Regions from separate parts of the Homo sapiens genome. Here region 2 is linked to region 1. The links are contacts of gene promoters, found by promoter capture Hi-C in blood cells and fetal thymus (Javierre and others, 2016). All regions are on one chromosome and are shown on one strand. Each heading gives the region's core, a stretch centred on a gene start or on the middle of the fragment in contact. The rest is flanking DNA. Distances are from core to core; before and after follow the strand shown. Region 1 holds the start of DEDD (death effector domain containing). Region 2 overlaps CD48 (CD48 molecule).

Region 1 (7,035 bases), core at 2,778-5,277:
TGCCACAACAAAGAATCATGCAGCACAAAATGTCAATAATGCCAAGGATGAGAAACCCTATTCTAGGTGGAGCATGGTAAAGGGTCAAAAGAATGCATGTCACTTTCCACACTAGATCTAGAAAAAGCCATCTGGTCCCTCCATCCAAACCCATCAAACAACATTCCAGAAGAAAAGAAAAGCCTGTCGGACATACATGTTCATTTAACTCCCAAGTCCAACTGCACTAAGGTGTTTCATGCCACTCCAACCTTGGGTCCTCTGTCACCTGCTGTTGCCATTCAGCTGAGGAACAGGTGGTAGTTCTACATCCACTTCTGCCCCATCCCAGGAGGTCTACTTTGACCTAGTTCAATCTGGAGTTCTATGGGGATATTAGAAATGTAATCCTCTGCAAGACAGACACAAAGGATCCTGCTCGTAAGCCTCAGGGTCATCTTTAAAGTCTTGGAACTGGATGAGCAGCAAATTCTCCTTGTGAGGTCACTAATCAGACTTATATTGCTTATTCAATGAAGCAAACATAGAAATATGTAAGTTCCTCAAGGCCATGTGCTTGGGAGAAATATGAGGATACTGTCATGCAGGTTAAGAGGCAGCCCTCTCCACTTAATGCAACCCAGATAAGGGTTCCAAGAATCTATCTAACTTTAACATTAAAAGAATGTGATGAGGCCTCGCATGGTGGCTCACACTTGTAATCTCAACACTTTGGGAGACCAAGGCAGGAGGACTGCTTGAGCCCAGGAGTTCGAGACCAGCCTGAGCAACATGACACAACTCCATCTCTACAAACAATAAACAAAAATTAGCTGGGCATAGTGGGACATACCTGTGGTCCCAGCTACTCTGATCGCACCACTGCACTCCAGCCTGGGGTACAGAGTGAGACCTTGCCTCAAAAAAAAAAAAAAAAAAAGTGATGAAAGTTCAGCTGATTAGTAAAATTAGAAAAGAAAACATGACCAATTTCCTCTAAAACCAAAATATACTCGTATTTCTGTGACAGTGAAGCAAGGGAGCTCAACTTAAAACATACAGAGATTCTAGATGACAGGTATCAGAATGGTGAGGAGAATGTAACCCTCTGAACAGAAAATTAGAACTAACTCAAGTCTTGGTATCTGAAACACTGCCAAATACCAAGAGACGAAACTCCAGCACACAGAAAGTCCTGATCCCACTGACTGGTCTGGCTGTATTTGAGATAGTAACACATGAATTCTCCCCTACAGTTTCCCAAGAATAATTGATTCTGAGGAATTGTTGTATTTCCTGGAGTTTTGCTTTTTTCTTTAGAGAAGTCCAAGTCAGCCAAGGGCCAACAGTCTATAGGTATCTTCAGGATTTCCTCCTGATTGGTCCTTCTCTACTATGTTTCTACTTCCAAGCAAAGTCTGGTCTCATCCCAACCAGGAATATCTGTAGTTTTTGAGGTACTTGGCTCTCTCAGAAGCCCTTAGGGGAAAGCGACATGAAAGAAATAAAAAAGAGTGCTGTCTTGAAATGAAAATGACAGTCATCTTTTCTGAACAGGGATGATATTTGTAATTTCATAGAATTAAGAGATATCTGACTCTCTCAGAAGTCCTCAGAGGAAAAGTCATGCAGAAGAACTACAAAAAAAAGTGGTATCTTGAAACTTAAATTAAAACTACATAGAAAATCTTAAAGATGGTTAAGAGTACATTCTTGCTGGTGGGATAGGAAATGTAATCAAATATCTGGAAGTCAGAATTACATAGTATGTTTTCAAAAGAAGGATGCCAGGAACCCCCCAACAGCTGAAAGAGAAAGTTAGAGGAAAAGTTTCCCACGGAAGGAAGGTGTCCCAGCAACCCTCCAAGGGCAACATTTAGTAGACAATGTACTAGAATACAGCCTTCCATATGTTAAAAAAAAAAAATGTTTCAGAGCTGACCAAGAAGACTAGACAATAACAAACCAAAGCTGGGGGATTGTCCCAAGACATCTAAATCTCCTTCTCTTTCACCTCCTATCTCCAATTAACTAAAGACAGTGATTACAACAGATCTCATGCACTCAGATGGATGAATGATAACTCATTTTCCCTGGCATTCTCCTCCTCATTAATGGACCCAACCTCAAAATAACTCCCATGCTATTTCCATTCCCTTCCATTGTTTGAAAACAATAAAAAAGTTCCAGACTTACCTCCGCAAGAAACTTAATTTCCCAGGTCTCTTCCTAGCACAAGTTTCACAGCCAGCAGCAAAACAAAAACAAATAAGGAGGGGAAAATAATTAATTTTCAAGTTTTACTTTGAAACCTCAGAGGCCCATAGAATTAGACAATCTCGTTGCAAAAGTACACAGACAAGCCTAAAACCATTTAGAGAACTCACCCCCAACAAGTCTCCAGGCTTCCCTAACTCTCTATTAGTCAATTTACAAAAACAATACCAACTCCAAGAATTTCCAGTCTCAATGGCTTGCGGCAAGACAGCTCCCAAATTTAAGAACTTCTGGGAAAACCAATTACCCTCTGGCAGCTTCTCATCTTCCTCCACAATTCCTTATTCCTATTTTGTTACAATATTAACGTTAACTTTCACCTTTAGAAAAAACTGGGAGGAAAGTGGTTACAGCAGACCAGCACTATCCTCCAAATTCTACATTTGGCCCTTTCCCTTAACTAGCACACAATGAGAACAAAATATCTAATGGCGCAGCATCCACTCATACGTCTATGTTTCACCAGGGAAAAGTTTTTCTACATACAGTATCCATGTTACCCCCTCCCTTCCAGACTTAAAACAGCAAAAGGGTCTGGAAACTACAGCACTCATTTAATTAACCTGTCTAGATGCCACTCTATCTTTTCTCTTTCCCTCCTCAGACTTCCAGAGCCTCCACCTTAGCATATAGGGTTCCAATATAGCCATGTCTGCTCCCCCACTCTTGTATTGCTAATGCTAAAAACTAGAAAAGTCCTTTGCTCCTCCACACTTGGGCGACACCGGCTTCCCCATTTTCCCAAGCAGGAAAAACAAGGGAACAGTAAGCTAGGGAGTCTTTTGGAAAACAAACCCAGTTGAATTCTCATCCAACCCCAATTCTGCAAACCCACATGACCATTCCCTTCTGCCCTTCCCACCCTCTTAAAAGCTAAGGGCCTGGCAATTAGAATTGGCTGCAACTGATGCTGCTTAACTCTGTTCTCTCCTCCTCTCCACCGGGGAAAGGGAAACCCCCGAACCTCTATCACCCGTGCAGCTCCACTGTCCTATCTCCCATTCCACTCCCCTTCCTCCCAAACTTTCTTCCTCCCAGTCTCTCACTTTCTCCATTACCTCCTCCCACCGACACTCTCTCCATTCCCCAAGCCTCCGTTCTCTCCTTTTCCACCCAAATTCTCCCCTAGGCCCTTCCCCCTCCCACCTCCAATTTAACACTTTCGAAGCCCCCCAGAAACGTCTTAACTCCAATTCTGACCTTTACCCACCTCCTCGCAACACCCCTCATCAGAGTCCAGTCCTCCCTCCAACCACATGCCACAGCCCCCTTCCCCTTCACACCCTCAGCCTCTCCCTCCTGCTCCTACCCCCTTCAATACGAGCGGATCGCAGCCCCACTCCCCACCTCGGCCTCTCTAATACCCCTGGCTGGGCCCAGTCTCAGCCCTTGTTTACGCCCCTCCCCATGCCCTCACTCCTCCGTCTCGACCCCTGCCCTCTCCCGCAGTTGCCATCTCCCCTGCACGCCCCCCTCGGCAGCTCCCCTCCCCCACCTCTCAGCGTCCCGTCACCTCCCTCTCTTGAGGTTCTCAGGCTGGACGTCGCCACCGCCTCCCCCTCCACTTTCCTTCCCCAAGCCCTTTGCGGCCCCGCCCGGCCCCGCCCCGTCCCGCTCGACTCCCTCTCCCCACTCCGGCCGCCCCTCCGCCTCACTCTCGGCTCAGGCTCGGCGCCGCCATGTTGGATCCATCCGCGCCGCTCTCCCGGGCCTGCCTCACGGCGCCGCATCCGGGCTCCAGCAGCCGCCGCCGCCGCCGCCGCCGCGGCCGTGGGGGAGGGGACAGGCGGGCGGGGGTGGCTGCATCCTGAACGGCGCCTCCCGGAACCCGGCCGGTTAGTGGCGGCTTCGAGGCCATAGTGAGACATGAGCCGGAGTAGCCATAGTAAGTGAGGGCAGCCTGGCAGCGGCATTAATCGGGGAGTGGATAGCTTCACTTCGGGAGGAGAGATAGAGATTGGCAGCCATCTTGCTTTGGGGCAAGCTGGCAACGCCGGTTTGTCTTGACGGCTGCTTAGGGCGGTAATAAGGGATCGAAGAGGATAGCATTCTTGAATGGGAAACATTGGTGGCGCCACAGCTGGCTGGTGGCGACTTCAAGACCCACTGGAAGGCTGGGATTGGCAGCCATGACTCATAAGGGCGGAATACCACGGGGATCGGTTTGTCTGGCGAACTTGAGTGAAGGGTCAAGATCTGGATTTCACCTTTCCTCTGAGCTTCCTGATAACCCGGACGTTCCGTAAACCCGGATCCGGAGCCGAAAGTGGTGCCCAGATCCCGTCTCGGAATTCATTTGTTCAGCATTTACCTTTTGAACGCCGGTTTCCTGTAGGAAGTGTCGCCTAGCTGATCCGTGTAGGGCTGTTGGGAATTGGGGGTGGGGAGGATGGTGCGGGTACGTTCTGGTGTGGCTTAAGAAAGTGGTAATAGATAGGGGAAGACCAGATTATGCGAAGCCTTGTAAATTAATTGATTTTTATCCTTAAGGCAATGAAAAGTCTTTGAAGAATCTCAGCAGAGGTGTGAACAATTTCATTTGCATTTTAGATCGCTGCGTGCAGTGTGAAGGATGAATGAATTGAGGAGAATCAAGGAGAGCAGTTGTGAGGCTCTTTTCCAGGCAAGGATGATGATGGTCTGCCTGTGGAAGGGAGAGTGCGGATGGGGAGATACAGATTGGTTTAAGAGGTACGAATGTTGTGACTTGGACAACTGGGGAATAATGATACCAGTTTCTTTCTCGTTTAGGGGGGAGATAATGAGTTTTAGGTGCCCCTGGGATATTAGCTAATGTGGGTTGGGAACTCAAAAGAAAGGTTTGAGGTGTGTGTGCGTGTGCATATAGATAGCTGTTGAAGCCATGAAGTGGGCTGGAGAGGATACCTGCATTTGCGGGATAGGATGAGGGAAGCCGAAAAGAACACTGAGAAGGGGCAAACCGAAAGGAAAGAAGAAAACCATAGAGAACTATCAAGGAAACTGGTGAAAGCGTTTAGTGTAACAGAGATATAGTAAAATGCTAACTAAAATATATACATCAGGGCCGGGCATGGTGACTCACACCTGTAATCCTAGCTTTGGGAGGCCGAGGCGGGTGGATCACTTGAGGCCAGGAGTTCGAGACCAGCCTGACCAACATGGTGAAACCCTGTCTCTTCTAAAAATACAAAAAAAATTAGATGGGTGTGGTTGCACATGCCGGTAATCCCAGCTACTTGGGAGGCTGAAGCATGAGAATTGCTTGAACCCAGGAGGCAGAGGTTGCAGTGAGCCGAGATCGCGCCACTGCATTTCAGCCTGGGCACCAGAGCAAGACCCTGTCTCAAAAAAAATGAAATAAATAGGCCGGGTGCTGTGGCTCACTCCTGTAATCCCAGCACTTTGGGAGGCCATGGCGGGCAGATCACCTGATGTCAGGAGCTGGAGACCAGCCTGGTCAACATGGTGAAACCCCGTCTCTACTAAAAATACAAAAATCAGCCAGGCATGGCAGTGCGCGCCTGTAGTCCCAGCTACTGGGGAGGCTGAGGCACAAGAATCGCTTGAACCCAGGAGGCAGAGGTTGCAGTGAGCTGAGGTCGTGCCACTGCACTCCAGCCTGGGTGACAGAGTGAGACTCTGTCTCCAAAAAAATAAAATAAAGTAAATAAAATGTATCTATCAGATATTGCAACAAGGGCCAGGCACAGTGGCTCACACCTGTAATCCCAGCACTTTGGGAAGCCTAGGCAGGTGAATCACTTAAGACCAGGAGCTGGAGACCAGTGTGGTCAACATGGCAAGACCCCATCTTTACAAAAAATACAAAAATTAGCTGGGCATGGTGGTGCGCACCTGTGATCGCAGGTACTCCAGAGGCTGAAACATGATAATCACTTGAACCCAGGAGGCGGAGGTTGCAGTGAGTCAAGATTGCACCACTGCACTCTCGGCAACAGAACAAGACTTTGGTTTTTTTGTAAATAAAACAAATAAATAAAAAGGCCAGGTGTGGTAGCTCACACCTGTAATCCCAGCACTTTGGGGACCGAGGTGGGCCGATCACCTGAGGTCAGGAGTTCGAGACCAGCCTGGACAACATGGTGGAACTCCCATCTCTACTAAAAATACACAAATTAGCCAGACATGGTGTCGGGCACCTGTAATCCCAGCTACTTGGGAGGCTGAGGTGGGAGAATCGCTTGAACCCAGGAGGCGGAGGTACAGTGAGCCGAAATTGCACAATTGCACTCCAGTGAGACTCTGTCCCCCCAAAAAAGATACTGCAACAAGGAGGTCATTTAGGAAATTTGGAGAAAGCTGTTTTGTAGTTATGGTGGATAGAAACCAGATTGAATTGAGAAGGCACAACGTATAAAGACAGTTTTTTCATGGTGTTGATGTAAAAAGGAGACTAGTGGTAGGGTGTTGCAGGAGGGAGAATTCCAAAGAAGGTGAAGAAGTTTTAGGTACCTGTGAGATAGCTAGATAGATATGTCCTAGTGGCATGTTTAATACACAGATCTAAAACTTAAGAGAAAAATATAAGTGGAGAAAAAAAGCAAGCACAGAATAAATATGACACATTTACACATGCATTAAAAAATTATGAAGAGTGGGCCTAGGAGGGATAAGACTTATACTTTTCATTTTACATCTATCTTTATTGCTTGAAATTATTTTATTATGCACATATTATTTTACAGAAAGCTACTTTTTTTTTTTCTTTTTTGAGACAGTCTCGCTCTGTCACCCAGGCTGGAGTGCAGTGGCACATCTCAGCTCATTGCAACCTCT
Region 2 (7,035 bases), core at 4,276-6,775, 450 kb before region 1:
TGGCTCTGAGCTAAATCCATCCTCTGCCCCACCATGCAGTCTTCTAAGGAGGTTAGAGATGGGGGAGGAGGAGTAGAAAGAATTGTGGGGAAGAGAGAGCACACTCTCCAGGTGCAGGAGCTGCCACTTTAACAAACGCACTTGAAGATAGCCCAAGAACACTGTGGAGGAGCTTGATCTTTTTATTCCTGGACAAGAAGGGACAATGAGAGATGGAACCTTTCTAAGGCTGCTTTGATCATACCAACAGTTGTGTAAAATTATCCTGGCCAAATCCTTTAAATGGCCAAAAACCATTTAAAGTCCAAATCCTCAATGAAGACTTTTGGAAACACTTCCACTCTAAACAACCCACAGCCCTGTTCCTTAAAGAAAGCCATGGCCGGGCACAGTGGCTCACGCTTGTAATCCCAGCACTTTGGGAGGCCGAGATGGGCGGATCATGAGGTCAGGAGATCGAGACCATCCTGGCTAACACGGTGAAACCCTGTCTCTACTAAAAAAATGCCAAAAAATTTAGCTGGGCGTGGTGGCAGGCGCCTGTAGTCCCAGTTACTCGGGAGGGTGAGGCAGGAGAATGGCATGAACCTGGGAGGCGGAGCTTGCAGTGAGCCGAGATCGCGCCACTGCACTCCAGCCTGGGTGACAGAGCAACACTCCTCAAAAAAAAAGAAAGCCTTTCAGGTAATGAGCTCAGCACAGAGCCTAGGGCATACGTGGTAGTCAGTGTTTGTTCTTACTAAGTGGCTTCCAGCATGGGACCCCTAGCATAGGTAAGCACTTGGTAAATATAGGTGGTAAATGAATGAACTCACTGATCTGAGGGGCCAGGTCTATTTATATGTACCCCTACCTGGTCCCAACACAAGGGCCCAATCCAAGCTGCTTATTTGTGCAAAGCCAGATATGAGGGTTACTTTCTCTTAGTCCACAGGAGCTCCTGGCCTTGCCAACCTTCCATGTGTAACCTCATGCTGGCTGTTGAGACAAGCTGGTTCCCACCCCAGACCTACTGATTCAAAGTCTGCATTTTCACAAGATCCCCAGGTGATTTGCTGGCAAGTTAGAGTTTGAGAAGCACTGACCTAATCCAAGGCTTTAAGTTTTACTTAAACTTGCTGCGCTGGAGCCAGCAGAGGGCAGTGCAGGAGCTTGCCTGAGCCGCCTGAAGGCCAAGGGGAAGCAACTTATCCTGACACCTCAGTTCACAAGAGTATACTCATGACTGGAAATTGAGGCTAATTCTGGAGTATCCTCTTTGCACAAAGACAAATGGGCTTGTGTATACTGATAAGGGAACACACTAACCTTTATTTATTTATTTTTTTTTTGAGGATACAGGGTCTTGCTTTGTTTCCCAGGCAGGACTGGCAGTGGCTTTTCCCAGGTATGATCACAGCACACTGCAACCTCCACCTCCTGGCCTCAAGTGATCTTCCTACCTCAGCCCTGGGAGTAGCTGGGACTACAGTGTATGCCATTGCGCCCAGCTTCTACTAACTTTTGATGCATAGACAGATATGAGGGGCTGGGGAACATAAGAACCAGGCCTTGTGACTTCCAGAGAAGGCCGTTGTCTTGGTGTAAGATATTAGTTGTCCTTGAGGTAAATTTGGCTTCACGGGCTTGTGACCTGTACAGTGACACGGGGCCCCAGGTCAGAAGGGCCTTGAACCTGGGTTAGTGCTCTGCTGCTGCTGACACTATCTGGAAATTCTTGATAATTTTCTCTTTCAGCTTCTGCTTAAGCATGCAGGTGAGAAGGGAAGATACATGTAATCTGCATGTCTGCCACCATTCCTTGTTACCCTTTTTCATATCCCATGAGCACAGCACTCCAGCGGACCTACCCAAAATATGTGGGAGTTCAGTGAAACTCAAAGTAAGTGCAAAGTGGTCACGTTATGGGAGCCACTGGCTTTCACAGAGTGTTGGGAGAATGTGTATGCAACAAGAAGTAAAATAAAAAAGTTAAGTTGGGTTTTCGCAGCGTTTTCACACTTCCAATAAGAACAAAATATATATGCATGCATGAGCCACGAAATAGAAATTGAGTAATTGCAATGATCCCAAATATGAATTAAATATTCTATTTTCATTTAAAACTAATGTTTTAAAATATAGAAAGTAAAATTCATGATAATTTAAGTTTTTAATTTGCCTTTACTTAGAACAGCATTAAATAGCAAGCAAATAAAAAAATACCATCTCAAGTAGAGAGACTGTGGAAGAAAAGAAAAGGCTTAATATTTCAGTACTTTTATTGGCACATTTTCCTTGCTTTTTGAGCAAGGGGAGCCAACATTTTCATTTTGCACTGAGCCCCACAAATTATGTATCTGGCACTGCCTTGAGGGATGGGAGGAGCAGGGAACCGTTGGTGTCTGTGACCTGAGCCGTCTAAGGTGAGATTTACCTCAGGTTTCCAGTAACTGGAAATAATACAAATACAATGTCCGCAGAGGCACGCTGGTTCCTCAGCAGCTGAGGAATGTGCTTATTTGTGACAGAAAGTGGCATTTGTTTCCTTCTTACTGCTTGTTTATCCCATTCGCGCTCGCGCGTGTGTGTATATGTGTGTGTGTGTGTGTGTGTGTGTGTGCGCGTGAAATTCCCCCCAAAACCCTCTTCTTCCACTGAGAAAAGTGAGGGGAAGGAAAAGGGTGCTGCTTACAGAAAGGGGATGGAAATGGTCCACCTGTAGGATGCAGGATACTCAGAGGTGAGTTTGGATGGAACTGCAGGCTGCTCAGAGATGAGTTCAGATGGGGATGCAGGCTGCTCAGAGGTGAGTTTGGATGGGATGCAGGCTGCTCGGGGGTGAGTTTGGATGGGGATGCAGGCTGCTTAGGGGTGAGTTCAGATGGGGATGCAGGCTGCTCAGAGGTGAGTTCGGATGGGGATGCAGGCTGCTTAGGGGTGAGTTCAGATGGGGATGCAGGCTGCTCAGAGGTGAGTTCAGATGGGGATGCAGGCTGCTCAGAGGTGAGTTTGGATAGGGATGCAGGCTGCTCAGGGGTGAGTTCGGATGGGATGCAGACTGCTCAGAAGTGAGTTTGGATGGGGATGCAGGCTGCTCAGAGGTGATTTTGGATGGGACTACAGGCTGGGCTCAGGGTGGGGGGTTTCTTCGGAAGCCCAGGCTGTCTTGTGGAAAAGACAAAACCCTACCTTTCTTATCATGCTTGTGCAATGTAGGGCAGGCAGCTGCCTTCCAAACAATGGCTCCGATGCAGTTCCTTGCATCATATAGCCAGACTTCCGAAGTCCTTCACTCCTGCCACATCCATGCCGCCCACTTTCTATTGGACAGATTTCATCACATGGCTCCAGCTAAACACAAAAGTAGCTGGGAAAAAGAGTTTTTTCACTCACCCAGGGGAAAATGAGAAGGTTTGGCAAACACATAGCACTGTATCTGTCACCGAGGAGATGGGGTGAGGAGGGAAGGGCCACGAGGGAGATGGGGGAGGCTGGTCTGGTTTGAAAGGCAAGCAGTCTGTGGTGGGCAGTTTTCTGAAGGGGAAGTGCATTCTGTAGTGACCCTTTCAGCTCCAGGCACATGAGGAGACTTAGAGGAGGGGACATTAAGCAAAAATCCCAGGTGTTATGTCAGTGGTGGGCCTGGGGGCGCCTACCTGCATATAGTGGACAACTCTGGTGAGAACACTGTGTCGATCTGATGGTTTTTTTGGATCCAGTGAAACGACTAGGAGTTGAAGACTTGCCCACACAGTCAATGGAAAAGAGGAGAGAGAATTCAGCTCCCTATGCGAGGCTTGTGGGGCAGGAAGGCTTCTTATGAGATAGAGCTGCATCCTTCCTTCTGCGAGAGCAAGCCTGAACCTATGTTTGCAGCAGACTTAAGGAGAGTGGTCCTCAGAGGGGTCAGAGCAAGGCAAGCCACTGGGAAGGAGGCAAAGGCTTGGCAGGGGAGCTGGAGCCCCAGGAAGCTTAGCATGGATGTTGGAATAAGGGTCAGAAGTAGCACAAATTGGCTCCTCAGCTGTGTTGACACACAGGAGCCGGTGGCTCCAGGCTCTCCCCTCTGTGTCTCCAGATTCCAGTTTCTCCCAGCTGATGGAGCAGGCACTGTCTGACAGATTTGGGACAACTTCAGGAATTCAGTTAATTGACAATTATATCAAATGTTTATTTTAAAAAATAATAAAACATTCACATAATGTTGTCACAATTTTGGGTGGGAAAAAAGCATGTGTATCTCTATATCTCTGTGTACTAGAAAACAACAAAGGGATATAAAATTAAATAATAACCAGTATTTAAAAGTTAACTTGAAAATCCTCGTTGATAATTCAGCAGCATGCTTCTGGTCAGCCTATACAGTCTCTGTCCTGGTGAGGAGCATGATCACCAACAGGCAAGATCTTCTGGCCTTGAAGTTTCGCTTGAGTTAAAAGAGCTCATCTCAGGTAAGTAACAGGCCAAGAATGGTGGGCACCGTGACCACTAGCCAACTTGCAATCCATTCTACTCCAAAGGACCGGGCTGAAAGAGCAAGAAAACCCTATATGCTTAGGTATCTTTATCTTGACTAATGTATTGAGAAGGGGCAAGTGTACTGGACACTGGTGTGGGAGCTCACAGAGCAGGGAAATTAATTTCTTCCCTGAATCCCATCCTATTTGGCTGGGACATTCTTTTCCTCAATCTCCCCAAACATAAAGTATAAAAAATGCAGAAATTCCTTAAATATCACTGGCTTACCTGGGCCCTGTGCTCAAAGGTTACCTCGACATATCTGTGGCCTGGGAAAGCATTGCTCCCCTACTCTGGACATCAACGAGGTAGGGTAGATCTTCAGGTACAGACAGATGACCACATGATACAATGCACAGCTGACTTTAGAGAGAAAAGGACCACTTCCTTTCCTTGTTTCTCTACCCCACTAAGTATCTGCACCAACTAGGAAGAAGAAGGGAAGAGAAAGGAAGACAGAAAAGGAAAGGAAAAGAAAAAGGATGGAAGGAAAGCTTAGATGCTGGGGTGGGGAAGGGCTGAGCTGGAGAAAATAAAAAAAAGGAATGAGTGATACAGTAGGGAAAGGAGTTTGAGGGGGCTTTCTAGGATAATTTCGGTGACTAAAAAGTGACAGATGGGTTTACCCTTCCAAAAAAAATGGATTTATTATTGCTTTTATCCTCTCTTCGGATGAACAGTCACACCCATTTTATAGAGGACAGGGAATGTGCGTCTTCCTTTTTCTGGATCTCAGGATGTGATATTGATATGAGGGTGGTGTTGGAACCACCAGCCAAATTGTGTTCTCATGGTCAGATACCACACTGTCACAGTGGGTCTGTGGTGGCAGAAGAGCAAGGCATATCAGGAGAGGCTGGTAGAGACAGGGCCAATTAGTTAGGAAGAATAAGGAAGAGCATACACAGTCTCCGTAGTCCACATGTGGGAGTAGAGATAAAGAAATCAGTGCAGTTAAGGAGGGTAGACAGAGCCCAGGAAGACCACAAAACAGCAACGTTCTCAGAGGCCAGAATCCCTGATGACTGGGCATGACAGGGGTCACAGGTGAATGTGAGCACCTCAGGTCTGAGTTATTCTAGAAGAATGTGTACGCTAGGGCTCAGGGATCTGACTTCAGGATTGTGGAGGGTATCTGACTCTGGTATTTCCCAGAGTGCTGGAGATATTGATCCAAGTTTATTAAGGGTCCCCAAAACTCTAAGAGACTGCGTCTCATTTAGCTCCCGCTTACTAAGGACTTGTCAGCCACTGTGATAGGCAGTTACGTGTCTTGTCTCATTGAATCCTTAGCACGAGATAGGAACTGTTATTTTGTCCTTTATTTAGGAAGAACATGACTTGGGGAAGCTAAGTAACTTGTTTAGCTAGTAAGTGACAGTCCTAGAAGTGACCCCAGGTATGACTGACTCTAAAACCCATGGCCTTAGCTGTCCCATGCTAGCACCAGTGTAGGCCTGATCTAGAGCCAGGTGTGACACTCATGAGTGGATCCTCCCAGGAGACAGGGGAATCTGGCTTCCTAAGTTCATCTAGGAACATCAGGCTGGGGAGGAGAAGCTTCGCCTGAGGCTCAGGCTCTCACGCCTCCTCGACGGCCTCTCTCAGGCCCGTCTCCTCAGTCCCTCTTTCCCTGGCTGACTTTGGCGGTCTAATGACCTCGGTCCCTCTTTCCTTGGCTGACTTCGGCTGTCTAATGAAGCCCCTCTAGACAGCTGCTCGCCCACTTGCCCTTCCTTCTCCCTGCTCACCCTGATGTTTCAGTCTACTCTATGATGACCCTGGCCTCAGATGTTAGGACTATGCTTTGTTAGAGCGGGAGAGGGAAGAGGAGTATCAGAGATCTCTCCCAAACGTCCTTTGCAGGTGAGAACACTGAGCCCCCACGAAGTTGAGGTAAGCTGGCTGGGAGGTGGTGGTAGAGCTGGTGGCAGAACCCACGTCTCCCAGCTCTCCCAGACACCTTAGGGATTCACCACCACACTGTGCAAGGAGGCTGAATAGGACCCCCAGCCTTTCTTTGTTCAAAACAACTCCAGTTACCCTGTGCCCCCCTCAGCTCCCAGGGATCCTTCTTACCCAGGGTACAGGGTGGACTGAGGCAGACCGTGCCATTCTTGCTGCTCACAGAATTGCTGACTTGGCAAGTATAACACCTGGAGTAATTATGTGGCATAAGGGTGGTTTCAAGCACACTGTTCTGGAGCTCCTTTGGGAAGGGCCTTTTGTCCCCATACCAGGTGTAGTTTACAGACTCGCCAGGTATCACACATGACAGTTTCAGATAACAGTTGTCATCCATGTCTTCTATCTTCTCAATTTTGATGACAGGCTTGGGTACAGGGTCTGAAAGTGAGGAGGATGTTATAAGATGAGACAGTGAGGCATTCATGCTGTGAAGGTTTAGCCAACAAAGAACAAAGGGATCCAGGGAAGGGGCCTGAATGCCCCAGGAGGCAGAGTCATGAAGAAGAAGTTCTACAGAGGGAGCCAGTGAGCAGCCTTGACCTCCTGAGGCCTCACAGACTCACTGCA

What was found. The method cuts DNA at HindIII sites, captures the fragments that hold promoters and counts their contacts. A CHiCAGO score of 5 or more calls a contact.
Region 2: a fragment that was not itself captured here is called in contact with the fragment with the promoter of DEDD in region 1 in 7 of 17 cell types (megakaryocytes, erythroblasts, neutrophils and 4 more); the score reaches 9.1 in megakaryocytes.

The regions. Positions count from the first base shown.
Region 1 is chr1:161,128,640-161,135,674 of GRCh38, forward strand. It overlaps DEDD (death effector domain containing), which reads right to left and starts at 4,028. Exons shown (of 6, transcript NM_032998.3): 1 at 3,912-4,028; 2 at 2,176-2,208. It overlaps LOC112543491 (linc-UFC1), which reads left to right and starts at 6,511. Exons shown (of 1, transcript NR_156734.1): 1 at 6,511-7,035. RefSeq lists enhancers at 2,898-3,721, 4,183-4,492 and silencers at 3,543-3,762, 3,813-4,162. The HindIII fragment of the contact is 8,185 bases long and covers 1-7,035 here.
Region 2 is chr1:160,674,623-160,681,657 of GRCh38, forward strand. It overlaps CD48 (CD48 molecule), which reads right to left. Exons shown (of 4, transcript NM_001778.4): 3 at 6,580-6,846; 4 at 4,124-4,509. The coding sequence ends at 4,430. Among named protein-coding and RNA genes, the nearest start is that of SLAMF1, 31 kb to the left of the region's middle. RefSeq lists enhancers at 1-216, 6,812-6,901 and a silencer at 67-176. The HindIII fragment of the contact is 1,066 bases long and covers 4,993-6,058 here.